Regions from separate parts of the Homo sapiens genome. Here regions 1 and 3 are each linked to region 2. The links are contacts of gene promoters, found by promoter capture Hi-C in blood cells and fetal thymus (Javierre and others, 2016). All regions are on one chromosome and are shown on one strand. Each heading gives the region's core, a stretch centred on a gene start or on the middle of the fragment in contact. The rest is flanking DNA. Distances are from core to core; before and after follow the strand shown.

The links. Contacts are between HindIII fragments. The CHiCAGO score rates a contact against its expected background, and 5 or more counts as called.
Region 1: the fragment with the promoter of SCGB1D1 here is called in contact with the fragment with the promoter of MYRF in region 2 in 4 of 17 cell types (naive B cells, neutrophils, total CD8 T cells and 1 more); the score reaches 7.6 in naive B cells.
Region 3: a fragment that was not itself captured here is called in contact with the fragment with the promoter of MYRF in region 2 in 1 of 17 cell types (neutrophils); the score reaches 6.0 in neutrophils.

Annotation. Positions count from the first base shown.
Region 1 is chr11:62,188,699-62,192,570 of GRCh38, reverse strand. It overlaps SCGB1D1 (secretoglobin family 1D member 1), which reads right to left and starts at 2,355. Exons shown (of 3, transcript NM_006552.2): 1 at 2,232-2,355; 2 at 328-515. The coding sequence starts at 2,286. RefSeq lists an enhancer at 1-301. The HindIII fragment of the contact is 8,999 bases long and covers 1,117-3,872 here.
Region 2 is chr11:61,750,362-61,754,287 of GRCh38, reverse strand. It overlaps MYRF (myelin regulatory factor), which reads right to left and starts at 1,652. Exons shown (of 27, transcript NM_001127392.3): 1 at 1,498-1,652. The coding sequence starts at 1,543. It overlaps MYRF-AS1 (MYRF antisense RNA 1), which reads left to right. Exons shown (of 4, transcript NR_026882.1): 4 at 1-259. RefSeq lists silencers at 1,503-1,602, 1,723-1,862. The HindIII fragment of the contact is 15,547 bases long and covers 1-3,926 here.
Region 3 is chr11:62,167,661-62,172,078 of GRCh38, reverse strand. It overlaps the pseudogene EEF1DP8. Among named protein-coding and RNA genes, the nearest start is that of SCGB1D1, 20 kb to the left of the region's middle. The HindIII fragment of the contact is 5,233 bases long and covers 1-4,418 here.

The sequences.
Region 1 (3,872 bases), core at 1,106-3,605, 440 kb before region 2:
AGGTGGAGAGACAGTTGTGCTTGGCCCTTCACCACCCCTGCCTGGACCCAGGCTCACTCCCCATGTCCTCAGCACACTCTGGGGACACGGCATCCAGGTAGGTGACCTGAGAAGGAGGAACATGCAGGAGGCTGTGTGCAGCTGAGTTGAATTCTGCAGGTGAAATGGTAGCACCCACCCTGTGGTCCCAGGTGACCTTCTCAAGCGGTGACCAGTAAGGCAGGTGCCCCACCACCTGTGTCCCTCACAGAGCAGCAAGCAAGCTGACCTCACTTCACACTGTGCCGCTGACCAGAAGCCTGGACACATGAAAGAGACAGAAATTACCAATGTTTTTGTAATTAGCACTCTTTTCTCATAGGCCATCGTATCCACGCATTTCTTCACTTCCATCTTGGCTGCAACAGCTTCCAGAGGTGCCTTAAATTTGGCAAGTTGGAACTTGAACACAGGTTTTCCAGCTAATAAGAAGCCTGTGATTTCAGAACCAAGAGCTTGGCAGACCACTGCATTTGCTGGAGCAAAAGAATAAAAATATAATTTGTGTAAGGAAATCAGTGTTTCTCCCATGCCTCCCTGATGTCAGACCAGACAGGAACCCCAGGGTTTTAGGCTTCTATTCAATAACTATGCCAATGACAATGTCAGACCCAGGAGGTTGTGACTTCCTTGAGGTCACACAGCAAAGGGTAGAGCTAGAACTGGAGAACCAACTTCCTGATCACTCATTCAGTCTTTGTTTTTTTTTTAAAGCACACTCATTACTTTCCAAAGCTTCTCTGGATGGATGGCCAACGTTCTCTTTTCTAGATTTGAAAATAATCACTTTTCTATGCCAGTTAAGTGACACTTTATTAGTCTTGGACATTGGTGAAGAGGAGGCTTTGAGTAATCAAATTTTGAAGTGGAATGGTAGAGTCAGAATCCTATCAGAAATTAGAGAAATGAGTAAATCTGGAACAGAAGAAGTTAAAATTATTGAAATGTTGAAGGTGATGTTTTGAGAACAAGTTGTAGAATTTAGGCTTATGTGATTCAATACAGACAGAGCTAAAAGGTAAACAAATTAAAACAAAATAAAATAATGTGAATCAGTTTTAACACACATTAGAAGCTTATACAGGAAATTGTACTTGGCCCATATTCTGCAGCAGCATCTAGAATATTTGGAGAGGATGAGAGGAGGGAACTGAGGCTCATTCCTGCTCCCACTGGGAATTTTGGAAAGACCTGGAGTAATCATTTTGCTTGGTCTGGAATCTCCATTCACCTAAGTCTTTTGCAAACACCATGCATCCAGAAAGCGCCCCACCATGCTCAACATGACCCCTGACTACCCGACTTCAAACTGTGGGGAGAATTTGGAGAGGGTAGGATCGGGGTGTCACAGGGAAACAGGGAGAGGTTCAGAAAAGAAGAGGAAAGAGAAAAATCAGAGTCTGGATCGGTCCTGACAGGGGAAAGGAAAGTACCCAAATGAACTGGGGAAAAATCAGCCAGAATTAATTTTAGAAAAATAGAAGTTCTGAGGCTAACCATTGTAGTATTTCTACCACCATTACGGTAGGACCCCTAGAAGATATATTGAGTGCTGCTTATTCTAAGAATTCATTTGCAGGCTTCTTATTGAGAGAATCAGAAAGCACCATCTCTTCTTGGACTGAGAGTTCTCCAAGGATCCTTCGAGATGTAACATTTTATGAGTCTGAATTTACAATGTAAGAAGCTGTGAGCTCAATTGGCACCTAAAGGTCTGGGGACGAGAATGTCTGACAGTACAGTGATTGGCTTCACATCCACAGCTAGACCCTTGGCACAATAATCCCACTCCATTCCCATTGCCACTCCCGGAAGAAGCTCTAAGCACCAGAGATAGGAGGAGGCGCGGGGAGGGTGAGCATCTTGCCCACGGTGAAAGGGCTGAGAAGTGGCTGAGCCCAGAGTCACCCCAGACCTCACATTACATCATCTGACACAGATCCCATCCAAGAGTGAAGCTCAGGCAGAATTCCTAACGTTCGCCTGCATTGATTTTCTGCAAAACTTCCTAGGTACTGGGGATTTGATGAAATGAGGCCCGAGCTTTATGAGCAGTTCCTTCAACAAGCACAGGATAAGGTTTGGAATTTTGGTTTGTTCCAGACCCCAACCTTAACCTTAATAGGTGACCTCGTGCTCAGAGAAGGGTGTGTCCCAAGGGCTGGTGCTGGACTCATGACTGATGTACTCACCCCGGTAGCAGCAAAGGGCCAGCGTGAGCAGCAGGAGACACACCGACAGCCTCATGGTGGCTTATTCTGCTGTGAGCTCGGCTTTAACCAATGATGAGTGATTTAGACTCAGCCCCGGGAGCCTGTGGAGCCGTGGAGCCCAGGGCTATTTGTACCTAGGGAGCCTGGCTGGTCCTGCCCACATGGGCATCTGGCAGGTGATGAGGCCTGGCTTCCAGCCCTCCCTTCCTAGCCAGGGCTGCTGCCATCCATCAGTGTCACATCCCCACACCTCCCTGCATCCTGAGTGGGGCGGAGCACGGGAGGGCAGCCCTGCAGAAACTCTGCTCTGTGCTCCAGGTGAGTGTCCAGGTGCCTCTGGCAATGTTCCCTGGAACCTCAGTTTGCTTTTGGGCTTTTGAGGATTATCTCTCTGTTCTTTATGTCAGTGCAAGGGCAAATGTGAGTTCTCATTTCAGGAGGACAGAAACCGGGGGTGCAGGAAGCTAGGGGCTGTGGTTTGGTTATAGGAGAGCAGGCACAGAAGAGACCCCACTTTGACCTCCACTGCATGTCTGACAATCAGCCACACGTGTTTCAGCTGCACATAGATCAAGTCTGAACCAGACCTATCCTCCCACTCAGCCCCTTCCATCCCCACCATCTTCACCACATAGGTACCTAAAACATAGCTGCATACACCCCACCTTTGGAGGATTTCCTTGGGGAAAACAACCACTCCCCCTGTCCTCTACTCTGTCTCACTCCAAGATCTGTGTCTTTATTTATGGGTGGAGTTGTCAACATAGCACAGGTTCAAATTTTCTGTCTACTAAAAGCAAGCCTCCAGTGACCTCTAGCCACCCATATCTCCTCATAGGGCTGATGGGATGATTAAATTGCCCAACTTTTTTTACCCAAGGAGCTGCTGGGGTGTCTGGAGGCAAACAGGCATCAGAAATACTGGTCTTCGCTTCTAGGCAGGGACGATAATGGAAAGGAAGAGATGGATGAACAGGGTGGGTGGTCACTTCCCTCTAACCTCTGGGCTCAAGTTTTCCACTTCTAACCCAGCTCTGCTGCCTGGGTCATCTCATTGTTGATGGAAAGCGAAGGCCATCCCCAGCAAAAGCAATAGACACCCTTCTGCCCTTCCACTGCAGTGCCATCATTTGGTGAGTAGGAAATCACCAGAAATTTGGCTCTTAAGTGAACACACATTTGAGAACAGTCACAGCCCAGGCCAGAGCTTTCCATTCTCTGCTCTGCAATCAAATCACTTGGGGCTCTTAAACTATACTGACTCCCCGCAGGCTGCTTCCCTTTCTGGGGATTTTGATTCAGTAGTTCTAGGGCGAGGTCCTCTTCTGTTTAAACTGCTCTGGTGGGTCTGATGGGCAGCAGTACTGAGAACCACCCAGAAAGACCTTTATGAAGGAAGCGGACCTTATGGTCTGTGTCATCAGAGACACCTTGGCAGGTCTGGCTGAGTCCCAGCTGAGGGCGACAATGCCTCTCACTTCCATCACCCAAAATGGTGGGGAAGCCCCTGATGCCACCTCTGCCTCCAACCCTAAGGAGTGGAAGGTCCAGTGGCAAAGCCCATGGCTAGGAGGGTTCAGATCCATGTCTATGGGCTATTGAACCCTCTGAAAATTAGTT
Region 2 (3,926 bases), core at 403-2,902:
TTCTGGGTCTGTGGGGTGTCCAGAATCCTGGAGTGGGATGACTGAGGCTTAGGGGTGCCCCTGCCTGGGCTGCTCAGCCAGCAGGTGTGAACAAGGGTTCCTGCCTCCCAAGTCACAGAGGGAGAGAAACTGAGGCACCGGAAGACCTGCTTCTCTCCTCCACAGGACTCCACAGGAATCTGGGGCTTGAAACTTGGGCCTTGGTTCCCTGCCCTGTAGCCCTGATAGGTTCACACATGAAGGGAAGGTTCTCAATGCACCAAGGAGCAGGATGTGGCCTTAGGGACTAGAGGGAGCTCGGGGCAGGGGCTGGGCTCGCTGCATTGGTAGACAGGGGCACAAAAGGGGGCCAGAGGGTCTGGCTAGATGTTCCAGGGAGGTTCTGAGAAGCGGAGTGGGCTGGGAGGCAGTCAGCCAGAACTTCCCCTCCCCCTCCCACTGCGGTCCCATCCCTCCAGAACCCAGCACCAGGAGGAGTGGTGGCCCTGCAGGAGGGGCAGGGGTCGTCCAGGAAAAGACAGGGAGTTGGTTAGATGGAGGAGCAGACCTCCAAAACCAATGTAGGGGTGGGGGCAGAAGAAGATATTATGGGGTGTATGTCAATTCCACCCCAGAGGGCTCCTTTCGGTCAAGTGGGGGTGAGGTCACTCTTTGAGGGGGCGAGGTCAGAGAGGCACAGCTCCAGGGTTGGGGGGACATAGTGCTGAGGAGCCTCAGAGGGCTGGTGGGATGCAGTTCACAGCACTAGAAGGGTCTCAGAGAGCAGAGGTGACCGGTGGCAGGGATGTCAGCTTCAAGAAGGTTCCAGCCCCAGGAGAGCATGCTAGGGAGGGGGGTCCCAGCCCCAAACAGGAGAGCAGTCACTAGGCAGCATTGTGGAAAGCAGGTGGCAGTCTCCAAGGGGATCCAGGCTCGAAAGTGGTCCTACCCTCATGGAAGCACAGTGGGGAGGTCCCAGCTCCTAGAAGTCATGGGGGATGGCGCCAACCAGAAGGGCACACAGGGGGTCTTGGTCTCTAGGCGGGGGTCACAGATTCTGGGAAGCAGGCTGGGGTCCAGCCTCAAGAGGTACGGAAGGTCCTAGAAGGCACACCGGGGGTCTGGGCCTTGAATGGGGTTGTATCCCGCTTGGGGTTCTGGGGAAGCAAAGTAGAGGGTCCCCAGACTCGGGAAGTTTGCTGGGGGCGAGAGTGTCACAATTTAGGGAAAGTTCCGGGTCCTGGAAGGCTCAAAGGAGTCCGGACCTGGAAGGGGACACAGTCCCAAGGAAGCTGCGAGTTGAGGAGCGGGGAGGGGGAGCCCAACTTCAGCGGCGGTGGGTGGTAACCGCTGGGGGACTCCCAGCCCCGGGAGCCTGTCTTGGCGGGCTGGTGCCAGCCTGAAGGAGGGTCCCAGCCAGAGGAGGCGGAAACACAGCGAGGAGCCCCAGTTCCCGGGGAGATCAGCCGGGGGTTCCCAGCGCCAGAGGGTCGCCGCCGCCAGCCCGCGGTCTCTCACCTTCGAAGAAGCGCTGCAGCGCCTCCGTCTCGTCCACCACCTCCATGTCCCGCCTGCCCGGCGCACACTCCAGCCGCGGCCCCGCTACAGCCCGGCCCGGGGGCGCGGCATCGCCGGCGCGGCCCGCGCGACAGTCCCGGCTGGGCTCCGGCTACGGTCCCGCCCGGTCCGCCGCCGCGCTTGCCCCCCGCGCGTCCCTGGCCCGGCCCCTGCCCGCCCCACGCGCCCCGCCCGCCGCGCCCAGCGCCCCCTGCCGGCCCGCGCCGCGCCCAGCCCGGCCGCGGGCACCACGCTCCCGACTCCTGCAGGCGGCGCTCAGCGCTGGGCAGTCCTAGGCTTGCGGGGCGCGGGGCCGTCCCGGGTCGGGGGACGCGAGACCGTCCCAGGCTTGAGGGGCGCGGGGCCTTCCCGGGTCGGGGTGGGGGCGAAGGGCCGCTTGGCCTCTGTGGGGTCGGGACTGGAAGGGTGTGCCCTCGCCGTCCTCGCCTTCGTCTTGCACGGGACAAGATGTCACGATTCCGAATCCAAACCTCAGAGACAGCCCCCATCCCTCTCGTTAGCCACCCACACACCCCGCTCAGCAACAATAACAACCTGCATTTAGGGAACGTGTGTTATGTGCCAGGCCACACAGGCATTATCTCATGTACTCCTCACAGGCACCTTATCAAGGAGATGCTGTTGTTACCTGCATTTTACAGATGGGGAAACTGAGGCTCAATGCATTAAGGACTGCCAGGAAGCCCTGTCCTGTGGCTGTGATGATGGAAATGTTCCCTGTGTTGTTCAGTATGGTAGTCACTGGCCACAAGTGAGCACTGGAAATGTGCCTATTGAGACTGAGGAACTGATTTTTTCATTTTGTTTAATTGTAATTAAACAGTTACGTGTGGCTGTGGTATTGGACAATGCAGGTCTAAAAGCTCCTTTTTTTTTTGAGATGGAGTTCGGCTCTGTCGCCCAGGCTGGAGTGCAATGGCGCGATCTCAGCTCACTGCAACATCTGCCTCCTCGGTTCAAGCGATTCTCCTGCCTCAGCCTCCCCAGTAACTGGGATTACAGGCGCCACCACGCTGGGCTAACTTGTATTTTTAGTAGAGACGGGGTTTCCTCATGTTGGCCAGGCTGGTCTCGAACTCCTGACCTTAGGTGATCAGCCCACGTTGGCCTCCCAAACTGCTGGGATTACAGGCATGAGCCACCGCTCCCCGCCCTGCCTAAGAGTTTCAAGGTCATTAAAGTTCAGAGCCAAATCCTGGCTGCCCCGGGAATCCGAACTCTCCTTTGCCGTGGCCCTGTCTGGTATAATGAAACCTGGAGGTTCTAACTCGATATAAGTCCAGGATAAAGCGGTTGTCCTTGTGCCCCTGCCTTCACCCTTATGACTGACTGCCTCCACATCTCTGTCCTGCCCAACTTGCACAGCCTCTCGTCTCACTGATATCCCCTTCAGTTCTCCCAAATCACCCTTTCTGAAACATACATCCGATCATGTCATTCCTTTGCAAAACTAAGTTTCCCTTTGCACTCAAAACAATATCTGAATGTCTTGCTCTGGTTTCTCAGGCCCCGCCTCTACCACTGGCCTCAGCTCTTCCCCTCTCTCCATTGCTCACTGAATAACAGCCACCAAGACCTCCTTGCCATTGCTCAAACATGCAAGGCCTACACCTGCCACAGGGCCTTGGCACATGCTATTCCATCTGTTTACAATGCTTGTCTCCACATGGCTACTTCTTTGTAGCAGTTGGTCTCAGCTCAAATGTCATGTCCCCAACCAGCCTACCTAAAGCAGTTCTCCCTACCTAGGCCTTTCTTGCTCACCATGTAAAAGATTCCTATTTAGTTTCTGTTATTATCCTTCTTGCTCTAGAATGGAAGCCCTACGAGGGCAAGATATTTTTCTGTATCGGTCACTGCTATAGCTTCAACACCAAGAACATGACCTGGCACACAGTAGGTGCTCAATAAATGTGTTGAATGAATGTATGGTGGCATCTTCAAACTACCGAATCCAGTCAGGCTCCAGTGGCTCACACCTGTAATCCCAGCACTTTGGGAGGTTGAGGCAGGAGGATTGCTTGAGGCCAGGAGTTCGAGACCAGCCTGGGCAACATGGCAAGACCCTGTCTCTACAAAAAATTAAAAAATTAACTAGGCACGGTGGCACATGCCTGTGATCCCAGCTACTGGGGAGGCTGAGGAAGGAGAATCGCTTGAGCCCAGGAGGTTGAGGCTGCAGTGAGGCTGCAGTGAGCCATGTTTGCACCACTGCACTCCAGCCTGGGCGACAGAGCAAAACCCTGTCTCCAAACACAAACAAACAAACAAACAAAAATCTACAGAATCCTGGACCTCTGAAACCTTGGGAGCGGATAATTCTGGAATCCCAGACCTAGAGAATCATCCCGCTTCAGAGTGGCTCAACT
Region 3 (4,418 bases), core at 584-3,083, 420 kb before region 2:
TCTATCTGTGGGACACCACTAACAGGATGCCCTGATGCCTCCCCAGGTTCAACAGGGAAGAGGCGGGCAGGCAGACAAGTAAAATTAAGGATTTGGGGTCCAGATATATTTTCCCATCTCTGGGTTATATGGACTGTGTGAGCTTGGAAAAGCCATTTAATCTTTTTAAGTCTCAGTAAATAAAGACTACACTTTCTTTACGTGAAAGTCAGTAGAATTAAATAATAGTATGTGTGAAAAACCCTCAGCTGTGCTGAGACGATCCCTTTAACATGAACCATCCAGTCAGTCTCATCCCGCTCCAAATAAGGCACTTTGGAGTCATCTTCACTTCCCTTCTAGTTTTATCCTTCAAATCTTCCTTTTCATCCCACACACCACAAACACAGTCGCAGCTACCCCCTTCTTTCCCTCTGTCCTTGATAGACAACCCCTAATCTCATTTCTTCTCAGCTTCTGTCTCCTTGGTAAGAAATCTGACGAGATAAATAGTATATACACCTGCTAGGATAACGCACAGTCCTCTCAAGAAGAAACGACCCTGTCAGTTGTTTTGACCTTATGCAAACACGAGTGAAACTTGTATTTCATTGTGTTCACTTTGAGAACGGCATCCAGGAACGGAACGCAAGGGCTCCTGCTAGTGACGGATGGTCTATTTCAAGTGTTCAGAGATTCCAGACTCTACATGAAATGGCGCCACCTTGAGGCTCAAACCTTATTGTTGGCGTTCAATTTAAGAAAAACTCATCAGACATCTCCTACTACAGGCCAGCCTTTGGTAATTAAAAGAATAAAACGGGCCGGGCGCTGTGGCTCACGCCTGTCATCCCAGCACTTTGGGAGGCCGAGGCGGGTGGATCACCGAGGTCAGGAGTTCGAGACCAGCCTGACCAACATGGTGAAACCCTGTCTCTACTAAAAATACAAAAATTAGCCAGGCCTGATGGCGCGCGCCTATAATCCCAGCTACTCTGGAGGCTGAGGCAGGAGAATCGCTTGAGCCTGGGAGGCAGAGGTTGCAGTGAGACGAGATCGCACCACTGCACTCCAGCCTGGGTGATAGAGCCAGACCCCGTCTCAAAAAACAAACAAACAAAAAAAACAAAACAAAACAAAAGAAAGAAAGAAAGAAAAAAAAAATGGCCACGTAAACCAACCTATACATAGGAGGCTTTTTGGAGGACATGATGAAGAGGTGAAGAAAGAAAGTACCTAGGCTGAAGGAACAGTCTAACCTCCAGCTACCTGGCATAGAGTCAGTGCAGAAGAAGACCTGATGGGAACTCAGCAGAGTGGACTCCTAGGAAGAGGGTGAGAACTGCAACCAGGTGAACCAAGACTAGGGAAACTGCTTCTGATTATGCACAGGGGATAAGATCCAGCCCCTGGGGAGCGGTGGTTAACAACAAGTACACATCATGTAAGTGCCCCGGGCACCCCTTAGTGCAAGGGGAGCTATAATTCTACCAGAACACTCTGGATGTATACATATGTTCACACAAGACCTTCCTTGTGGATTAAGACAATATAACAGCAATTTGAGAAAGAAGGTGGCTCAGGGGACACTATCCCACACAGTGCAGACAGGAAATTCTGAGCGGTTTATCATTTGGTCAGTAGGAAGTCATCAGGAAGTCATCAGAAAGTCATGAAAGTCTAGAATCAGTGGCTTGCTCACCAGCTGTAAAGGAGACAGTCATGAGTTAGGGATCAATAATTGGTAATTATCAGAGATCAATAATTAGTAATTTGACAGAGATTTACCAGGGAGGAATCAAAATTCCCCACCTCTGAAGGGTGGCGGGGGGATATTTTTACTGTGTCTCAAGATCCTGCTGGCTCCTTTAAGCCATATGTGACATATTAATCATCTTTCCACATACAAACATGCACTTGAATGACCCCTCTAGAGTCATTTAAGGACAGGCTAGGGCCATTTTTAATATGCTAAAGAACAGAGCACTTTCCCAGGCTTAGGGACTGTGGATGGTCCCAGAGACTCCAATGGTCCAGGAAGTGGAAAGTCCTCACCCATGACACTTACTTTCCTCCCAGGACTGGAGGGCAAAAGAGGAAAACAAGAAAAATATGGAGAAAATATGAAGAAAAAACAAAAGAATGTGACAATTCTTGTTCCCAATTTTGAAACAACTTCACATATTCCTTAAAACAAAGATGACAACATAAAACTATAAAAAGGTATCAAAAACCTCACAATAAGGCTTTTCTAATTACTGGGGGAAATGGCAGCCATTCCTCCCGCAGCTGTGCTGCCTCCTCGTCCTCCTCCTCATTGTTGCTGCCAAAAAGGTCAATGTCATTGCCCTTGTCATCCTCTGCTGGTGTGGTTGGCTTCTTGGCCAGGGCTCCACTTGGCACATGGGAGACACGTGCTGGGTCTGAGGGACTGTGGCCCGGTGGCCAGCAGAGCTCTTCTCCAGCACGTTCAGCTGGGCCTCCAGCCTGGACATGGCCTGCTGCAGCTCCTGCACCACGCTGCTCAGCCTCTGGTTCTCCACTTCCAGACTGGCGATCAGGACAACAAGCTCGCTGTGTTCTCCGTTGGGGCCGCTGGAGACCCTGGGGCCTGAGCTTCTGGCCAGGGATTTCTGGATGTTCTCTCTGGCTCTCGCAATGTCATGGAGGATCACGCTGGCGCCATTCTTCTGGCGGGAGGTGCTGGCCACAGGCCCGTTCATTTGCTCGTACAATCTCCTTTCTGCAATGTCATATTTGAACTTGTCAAACCAGATCTTCTCATATACTGAGAAGTTTGTAGCCATTTTTCTGATGCCAGCCAAGGACTCAGCAACGAGGGAGGAGGAATCGGTGGACGTGGGACGCCTGAGGCAAGAGAACAGAAGACTTAATGTTGTTAAGATGTCAATACTACCCAAAGATTCAATGCAATCCCTATCAAAATCCCAAAAATGGTTTTTCCAGAAATAGAAAAAACAATTATAAAATCCATATGGAATATCAAGGAACCCCAAATAGTGAAAGCAATCTTGAAAAGACGGAACAAAGCTGGAGAACTTGCTACAAAGTGACAGTAATCAAAACAATGTGGTACTGGCATAAAGACAGCCATGTAGACCAATGGAATAAAATAGAAAGGCCAGAAATAGAGTAAAAATAGAGTTACCACATGATCCAGCAATTCCCCTTCAGGGTATACACAAAATAATTGAAAGCAGAGTCTCAAAAAAAGATTTGTACATCCATGTTCACAGCAGCATTATTCACAATAAAACACAGAAGCAACCCAAGTGTCCATCAACAGACACATGAATAATCAAAATATAGTACATACATACAAGGGAATATTATCTAGCCTTAAAAAGGAAGGAAAACTACATGCTACAACATGAATAAATCTTGAAGACATGTTAAGTGCAATAAGTCAGTTACATAAAAAAAGACAAATAACGTATGATTCCACTTATATGTATGTAAAATAGTCAAAATCATAGAAACAGAGAGTAGAATGGTGATTGCCAGGGGACGGGGGAGGGAGGAATAGGAAATTATTGTTTAATGGGTATAACTTTTCAGTTTTGCAAGATGAAAAGCACTCTGGAGATAGATGGCAGTAATGGTTGCACAAAATTACAAAATGTATTTAATACCACTGATATATACATTTTAAAATTATTTAAAAAAACGATTAAGATGGTAATTTTCATGTTTTGTGTATTTTACTGCAATAAAAGAATTGAACAAAGTAATGGCAATATTTTTTTCATGTGACAGCTTTTCACTTAGAGGGCAGGGCTTTTCCAAACAAATTAAAGTTATTAGGCAAGCCTGTGTGTCTTGGAGACTTTATTATTTTGTTTGTTTTAATAAATACAGACAGGGTCTTGTTATGTCACTCAGGCTGGTCTCAAACTGTGCCCGCCATTCTTTAGAAATTTTGGGAAATACAGGGTTGGGTGCAATGGCTCATGCCTGTAATCCCAGCACTTTGGGAAGCTGAGGCAGGGGGATCACTTGAGCCCAGGGGTTGGAGACCAGCCTCAGTGACATAGTGAGACCTCATCTCTACAAAAAATCAAAAAAATGAGGCAGGAAGATTGCTTGAGCCTGGGAGGTTGAGGCCACAACGAGCCGTGATCATGCCCCTGCATTCCCGCCTGGGCAACTGAAGTGAAACCCTGTCTCTAAATAAATAAATAAAATAAATTTGGGGAAATAAAGAAAAGCCCATAGAAGTCACCCATATACAACCAGTGTTAACTTGCTGGGCTCATGGGGTCAAGTCTTTTCCCATCCATCCAGACACAGATACCTGGATATCAGCATCTTGCTGCACAGGTGGGCTCATGCTCTGTGTGCATTGTTCCCTGGACAAGGCACAATGGCCATTCCCCCATCATGATAAATGTGCCTAACTCTTTTCTTCCCACCTCCAT